Regions from separate parts of the Homo sapiens genome. Here region 2 is linked to region 1. Evidence: promoter capture Hi-C in human tissues and cell types (Jung and others, 2019). All regions are on one chromosome and are shown on one strand. Each heading gives the region's core, a stretch centred on a gene start or on the middle of the fragment in contact. The rest is flanking DNA. Distances are from core to core; before and after follow the strand shown. Region 1 holds the start of ZNF777 (zinc finger protein 777). Region 2 has its middle 7.0 kb from the start of ZNF746.

Evidence for each region. The method cuts DNA at HindIII sites, captures the fragments that hold promoters and counts their contacts. A contact is called where the count stands out against the background at its distance.
Region 2: a fragment that was not itself captured here is called in contact with the fragment with the promoter of ZNF777 in region 1 in 1 of the 25 tissues and cell types used here (mesendoderm cells).

The regions. Positions count from the first base shown.
Region 1 is chr7:149,458,849-149,463,244 of GRCh38, forward strand. It overlaps ZNF777 (zinc finger protein 777), which reads right to left and starts at 2,214. Exons shown (of 6, transcript NM_015694.3): 1 at 1,967-2,214. RefSeq lists silencers at 875-1,234, 1,245-1,324, 1,615-1,684, 1,855-2,194. The HindIII fragment of the contact is 12,669 bases long and covers 1-4,396 here.
Region 2 is chr7:149,502,889-149,506,682 of GRCh38, forward strand. No RefSeq gene overlaps it. Among named protein-coding and RNA genes, the nearest start is that of ZNF746, 7.0 kb to the left of the region's middle. The HindIII fragment of the contact is 6,744 bases long and covers 1-3,794 here.

The DNA.
Region 1 (4,396 bases), core at 964-3,463:
AAATTCCTGGTAGGGGGTTGGAGGGAGAATTCTTCTGAACCATATTTGTAGGATTTAACGGTCCCTCCTTCCCCGACGGATCAGGAGTGGATGGATTCTCCAGGATTCATGCCACATTAGCAGAAGCATCCATAACCACAGTATCTGACTTATTAAGAAAGTCATGGCATTTTTTTGAATGACCCAGTATGGTTCACCCAGCATTATATACCATTCAAGGGCCCCGAAGGCCTGAGCCCAGAGTAAGGCATGTAAACATCTTCGTTTGATTTTATTTTCTCATGAGTTTTTTTTTGATTAAAGAATTGGGATGCTTTTTAGAAAGCTATATATCCTGCCTCCTTCCTGTGTACACAATAGGAAACTGAGGCTCAAAGGCACTGACTCCCATGCAGTAATCCTCTCACTAGCACGGCCAGGGCGTCTCAAAGAGCAGGTCTGCGGGAGGATCTGAGGGATGATTTTTTAAGAGTGTCTTCCTGAAGAGGAACATCAGCCCCCAACCCCTGAGAAGCTTACTCCCCAGACACCATCTGTCAGGGCACTCAAAGTTTAGCCTACGACCTTCCAGACGCAGAGGCCGGAGGCAGAGGCTGGAGCTCAGAGGGTCACCTGCTCCCACCGCGGAGATGCCCAGCTGGGCGCTGCCCGGCCTCCCCCGCCGCCCCCGACGGGCCGCGTCCGCTGCCAGGGCGGCCCAGCCCCTCACCCAGGGGCGGCCGCCGCCAGAGCCACCCCCTCCCCGTCCAGGCCCGCAGCCCTCTGGGCAGGCCTTTCTGGGGCTGCCGCACCGTGCCACGGATGCCTTGCTACGTGACCTTGGGGCCGGCAGGGCGGGTCGCCGCCAGGTGTCTGTGCCTCAGTGTCTCCGTTCTGCGAAATGGGAGAGCCGCGTCAGCGCCGCGCCCGGGCCGGGGAAGGCTCCGCGGGGCCGAGCTCTGCGGAAAACGTGCCGGCGGCTACCCCGACGGACGCAGCGCGGGCCCCGCAGGGAGCGAGCGCGCCTCCGGGCGCCCCACCTCGGGGCCGCGTGTGTGCCGGGCCGGGCGTGAGAGCAGCCTCCCTCGCACGGACGGCGGCGAGGCCCGTAGCCCTCCCCCACCGCCCGGGTCAAGACGCGCGGGCCCCCTCCAGGGCGCCCCCACCCCCCGCGCCAACGTCGTAGCGTTTCTGCCCCTTACCGAGATCCCAGGCCGGGCCGCCGAGCCCGGGACACGCAGGCCGTCCCCGGGGCCCCGAGGCCGCGCGTCCGTGCGCGCGCGGGCCGCCCTCACAGGAGCCGGGGCCGCCTCGGCCATGGCCCTGCGCTGTCCGGCCCGGGCCCCCGGAGTCGCCGCCGCTACTGCCGCCGCCGCTACTGCGCGCGGCCCCACGCAGGCCCGGCCGCCCGGCGCTCTCCGCAGGCGGCGCCGGCCCAGCCCTGTCTTCCCCGCCGGGGCTCGCGCGCGGCCGTCGGGCCCCGGCCTGCTCGGGGCGCGCGGGGCGAGCGGGCGCGGGGTCGCGGAGCCCGAGCGGCGGCGTCGGAGCTGGGCGCGCGGCTGTGCGGGCGGCCCGGCCGGCTGCGTCCCGGCGGCGAGCTGGGCCCCGGCCCTCAACGGCGGCCCCCGGCCCGCGCGCCGCCCCTCTGCGGCCGCGGCTGGGACCCCAGCTCCGGCCCCGGCCCCGGCTGCGAGCTGCGCTGCCGTCCCGGCGCCTCTTTAGCAGGGGAGCTGCACAGCAGCTGCCATGTTGCTACAAACTGCATCCTGGGAGGCATGTCCCTCTCAGGCCGTTTAAAGAGAAACACTCCGAGGCTCGTCGGAGGCTGCCGGAACCCAGACAGCTCCATCTACAGCCGGTAGGAGCGAACAGTGTCGAGCGAGCCGCCCGGCGGCGACGGACACGCCCTGAGCCCGGGCCAGCCCGTCGTGGAGCCCGGGCCGAACCGCCGGGGCCTCCCACCCTCCAGGACCCTCCGGCCTCTCACCTGGGGTCCTCGCCTGCCCAGGCACCCTCGGGCGAGGCCGGGAGGCGCGCGGGCGGAGGCGCAGTCGGAGCGCGCAGCCCAGGCGACGTGCTGGGGTCTGGAGGCGGCTTGATTGGCTCCGACAGCCTTCCTCCCGCCGATCCCCTGCGCCTCTCACACCCAGAACCCGGGGTCGTTCCCTTTCAAAACCTGCGCTCACAAAGGGATCTAAGAAACCCGTCACACCAGAGAAAGCCCGGAGTTCATGTGACCAGCTCAGTGCAGCCCGGGTTCCAGGGACGCGGGCTGTGCTTCCAAGGGGAGCCAGGGGGTTGGGTGCTTTTGTGAAATGCCCGAGTGTTGTTTTCGACATGAAAGGACCGAATTCCTAGAATCAGACCCTGCTGGGGCTGGAAGTGGCCAGACGGGTCATTTAGGAGGAAACTGAGGCCGAGTGGGCAGCGACTTGTTTACCCTCAGTCACAGTATGAATGAATGCTCTTTGTAACCATGAGAAGTCCCAAAAGAAATGCAGGAGCTTAGAGTTGAGAACTCCCCTTCCTGGACAGGTCCACTTAAACATGTATTAATTGAATACCTACGAGGTGGCGAGAACTGGGGATGAATTGAAAAGGAAAAAAAAAGAAGAAACTATAGGCAGGCGTCCTGGTTACTAGCGATGAAGCCCAACTGGAACTAACTTAAGTGAGGGAAGACGGCGGGGGGGAGCAGAGGACATTGTGTTTACCTAATGGAACCCCAGGAGTGGAGCTGGTCTTGGAAGGCAACAGGACTCAGTATGCTGGCAGCTCAGATAATGGAAAGTTATGGCCAGACGTGGTGGCTCATGCCTGTAATCCCAGCACTTTGGGAGGCTGAGGTGGGCAGATCACGAGGTCAAGAGATCGAGACCAACCTGGCTAACGTGATGAAACCCTGTCTCTACTAAAAATACCAAAATTAGCTGGACGTGGTGGCGCGGCCCTGTAGTCCCAGCTACTTGGGAGGCTGAGGCAGGAGAATCTCTTGAACCCGGGAGGCAGAGGTTGCAGTGAGCCGAGATCGCCCCACTGCACTCCAGCCTAGGGGACAGATCAAGACTCCGTCTCAAAAAACAAAAAAAAGGAAAGTTACAGATAGAGGTAAGGCCAGAGCTATGCATCCTGTCCCCTCCCTTCCCGGAGGCTAGAGTTCTCACCCAGGTCTTTATGCATTAACTAACATGTGTGCATTCGTAAACAATGCACACTACTGGTTTTGGTATTTTTACATTTTATGTGAATGATATTATCCAGTCCCTATCCTGTTGCAACTTGCTTTTTTCCATGGGTCATTTTGTTTTTGAGATACAGACATGTTTAAACAAGAATATCTGGTTCATTCATTTTACCCACAATATAGTATTTCATTGAATACATAAACTACAGTTTACGTTCCATTCCCCCTAGAGGAATGAGAACAAACCTGCTGCCAGCGACATCTGCATGCATGTCTCATTGTGCACTGCTAAAGTGCGTCTCTAGAGACGCCTAGACATGGGACTCTGGATGGCAAGAGCACCTTCATCTTTCCCCGGCTTCCCGAACTGCTCACTGAAGGGATGGTGCCTACTTACACACCCACTATCGTGTGATTTTCTCTTTCCCCATCCTGGCTCATACTTACTGATAATGGACTCAGAACGTTTGCCGACATGATGACTGTGAAATGGTAGCTCATTATTTTAATTTGTATTTGTATTTCCCTGATTAATGAAGTTGGACATCTTTTCATGTTTACTGACATTTGGTTTCTTCCTCTGTGAATTTCCTCTTCATATCATTTGCCAATGTTTCTGTTGTGAGATCTTTTTCTTATTGGCTTATAGGTATTTCATTAAAAATCTATTCTGGATCTTAATCATATCACCAAACATTTAATGTGATTACTAATACGATTGCATTTAAATCTACCATCTTACTAGTTATTTTCTGTGTGTTCCAGGTGTTCAGTGATACCTCTCTCTCTCTCTCTCTCTCTCCCCAACTGCCTGCTTTGAGGTTGAGGTTTTTTTTTTTAATTCTATTTTTATATTAGTATTCTATTTCTTAGTAATTTCTATTTTTCACCATTCTCTTACTAGTTACATATAATTTTAAATGGTTGTCCTCAGTTTTACAATATACATCTTTAATTTTCTAACAGTCTACATAAATTATGCCACTTCACATATGGTGTGATAACCTTACAACAGGTTATCCCTACCATCTTTTATACTGTTGTTAGCATACATTTTATGTTTATGTATATAATCTCCACAATACCTTGTTAGATGGGCAGATGGCAAATATCTTCTCCCAGCCTGTCTTTTAACATGTTTCATGGTAAGTGTTGCACAAACATTAAAATTATTTAAAGTATTATTTATATGCAGTGTAATGCACAGATTTCAAGTTTATGGCTTTTCTAGCT
Region 2 (3,794 bases), core at 439-2,938, 44 kb after region 1:
TGGCCCACCCCAGCAATATTATTAATTATAATAGAAACAAGCTTATTACTCAGGTGCTGACTCATATTTACAAGAGATTTTGAAGTTTTATAGGTCTGACCTTTGAGTTGTCAATTTTTGAGGACCTCACAATAGTCTCTCATGGCTTTCAGAGTGGGGGAAGCCTGTCACATCAAAGCCTAGCCAGATGAAATGAAGAATATTTTATAGGGACACTGAGTCCTTTTGAGCTTGGCTAGGGACAAAACCCACTCAGTAGAAATTAGTCAACAAGTCTATACTGAGTACTTACTGGGTCCTCAGCCAGATTATATATGTGAAACGTATATAATCAAGGTGACAGTATTTTCTAAACAGAAAACTCACGGTTTTTAGTATAACAAAAGATCTTTATGTCATTTATTGGTGCTAAGAGATAGTCTGGGAGATGCAATTTGGACCTCAAATATAGAAAAATATGGGCCAATTTATGCATTCATTTGAATAAAAGAGAATATGTGAAATTATGATTGTCCAAGTATGCATGGTCCTTTGTTCAACAAAAACTGCCCAGGGTTCAGCACAAAGATGAAAGCTGCAGTCCTTGCCTCAAAGAGCTCACTGTCTAGTCAGAGATGGATGTGCAAATCAACAACAATCAGGGGATAGATGTGAAAACAAAATTCAGGAGAGTGAATAAGGAGTGCTAAGTCTTGTCTGGGACTCAGGGATCGCTTCTCAAAGCAGGTAACTTGAACTGAACAGAGAAGGATCAGTAGACGTTTGCTAAGCAAACTTGGGTCAAGAAATATTCCAGACAGGAAATAGAATGTCTGAAATATGGGGGAATTGGACCATGCATAGAGAATGACAAGAAAATTCAGTATGGTTAGAATGGTGGGTGGCCATAGGATGGGGTGAGGGATGAGAGGCGAGAAATAAGACTGAGGTGAGATCATAAGTAGTTCTGTATACCATGTTCATAATTTATTGTAATTTTTATGTTTTTTTTGAGACAGGGTCTCACTTTGTCTCCTGGGCTGGAATGCAGTGGCATGATCTCGGCTCACTGTAGCCTCAACCTTCTGGGCTCAAGCAATCCTCTTGCCTCAGCTTCCTGAATAGCTGGGACTACAGGTATACGCCACCACACCTGGCTAATTTTGTTTGTTGGTGGAGATGGGTTTTTGCCATGTTGCTCAGGCTGGTCTTGAACTCCTGAGCTCAAGCAGTCTACCTGTCTTGGCCTTCCAAAGTGTTAGGATTACAGGTGTGAACCACTGTACCCGGCCTCATGTACGTAATTTAGATGCTATTATCTAAGTCAAGTGCTATCAAATCATTTTAGCTCCAAGCCCCGTTCTTCAAATAAAAATCTGAGAAGTGCAATATAGAAATCGGATCAATGAGAAACTGCCCTGTGGGAGTCTCTCTCTCTGTCTCTCTGTGTGTGTGTGTGTGTGTGTGTGTGTATGTGTGTGTGAAGGGGGAGTTCACAAGCCCCCTGGCAGCTTGACCACTTCCACATCCCTACTGGAAGTTCTAGAAGAATTTCCACAGAAAACACTTTGGAAACCACTGATTTAGGAATTGGAGAGTAGCTGATAAATTCTGAGGAGGGAGAATTAGGTATTTTGAAAGATTACTCTTGAGGTTTTATGACTGGTTGCTGTAAAAGGAGTGTGGCTGATACCAAGAGATAAGCACAAAAGTTCAGGTGAGATAGCAAGAGGACAAATTGGAGCTCTCATTGTTGAGAAAAGAGGCCTTGATAAACACACCACCCTTTCAGCTTTGACCCTTGCAGGGCTAGATCAGCTTCATAAACACTCACATCCAATTTGGAATCATATCATTCCCAGACTGATCTATGATAATCTGCTTCTACTCTAACTGCCTGACAGGAGGAAAAGCAAATTTCTCTGAAAGAAGAGAACATCTTGTACAACCTCAAAATATTACATTTTCAAATATAGTATCTGTCACTCAATCAAAGACAACCAAACATGCAAAAAGATAAAATTGAGTGAGAATCAAGAGAAACACAGATGATAGATACAAATTCATGAAAAAGCCACATAGTAAAGTTACCAGACATAGACTTTAGGTTAACTGTTATTTATAAGTTTAAATGTGATTAATAAATGACCTGATGGATAATTTCAATGGAGAATTAGATATGATAAAAAGAATCAAACAGTCATTCTATAATGTAAATAAATAACTTAGTAGATGAGTTTAACAGCACAGTGGGCACAGCTGAAGCAAGAATTAGTAAACCAGAATGCAGGTCAGAAGAAAATATCCAGACTGATGCACAGCGAGACAAATAGTGAAAAATGTATAAAATCTAAAAGAGAATATGGGACATGGAGAAATGGCCTCTAACATATGCATAATCGGAAACCCAGAAAGACAGGAGAAAGAGAAAAGAGGTAGGAGTAATACATAAAGAGATATTGACCAATAATTTTTGGAGACAAATGAAATGAGACAAGCGCAACTTGCATGAGTTACAAATTCCAATTAGAATAAATAAAAAGGGAATGATATGAACTGATAAACATACTATGGTTTATTTATCATGGGAACTCTCTGTACCTTCTGTTTAATTTTGCTGTTAACCTAAAACTGTTCTTAAAAGTAGTCTATTAAAAAAAAAGATCCCTCACTTACGAAAAAGGAAACTAGGCCTACACTCACAGACAAACAACTGAAAACCAAAGGACAAAAGGAAATATTATATGTAGCCAGATAAAAAGGACATATTCATTTCAAAATAACATAAATAAGACCTATCACTAACTTTCAACAGAAAAATGGAAGCCAAAGGACAACAGAATGACACTTTGAAAGGACTGAAAGAAAATAGCTGACAATCTACAATTCTATACCCAACAAAAGTATCCTTCAAACACAAACATAAAATAAAGACACTTCCAAAAAGCAAAAACAGATAATTTGTTAGCAGCATATCCTTACTAAAGAAAATAAAGAGGGGGAGTTTTTAAGGCAAAAGAAAGATGAGTCAGATGAAAGAAGGTGTAAATGCAGAAAGGAATAAAGAGCAACAAAAAAAGTAAATATCCATGTAAGTCTGCATTAATTTTGACTATGTAAAGCAATAATAATAATTAATAATAATAATAATAACGTGTCTCATCTTTAAATTATATGTTGGGTTTTTCAAAATATGATAATAATAATAGAAAAGGCAAGATAGAGAGTAAATGGACTTAAAATGTTGTAACATCCTATATTGTCCAAGAGGCGTTAAGAGTAGTAACTTAAATAAGATTTTAATAAGTCATGGTTGTGTATTGTAACATCTAAAACACTGAAGGAATAGTAAAAGAATATATAACTTAATTAGTTTTGTAGGGACACTATAACAGATTACCACAAACTGGCTGGCTTAAAACAACAGAAATTTACTCTCTTATGGCTCAGGAGGCCAGAAGACCAAAATCAGGGCATTTTGGGAGCAGGGCCACGCTCCCATCAAAGGTTCTGGAGAGGGTGCTTCCTTGCCTTTTCCAGCTTCTGGTGGCTTCTGGCATTCCTTGGCTTGTGGCTGCATCACTCCAATCCCTGCCTTTGCCTTCACATGGCCTTACCTATGTGTCTGTGCAGTCTGTGTGTCCTTTTCTGTCTCTTATAAGGGCATTATCATCATTTGACTTATAGCCCACTCTAAGCTCTAATTTAATTGCATCTATAAAAACTGTATTTCCAAATAAGGTAACATTCTGAGGTTCTGGATGGACATGAATTTTGGGGGAACACTATTTAGCTCACTACAATAACTAGCAAAG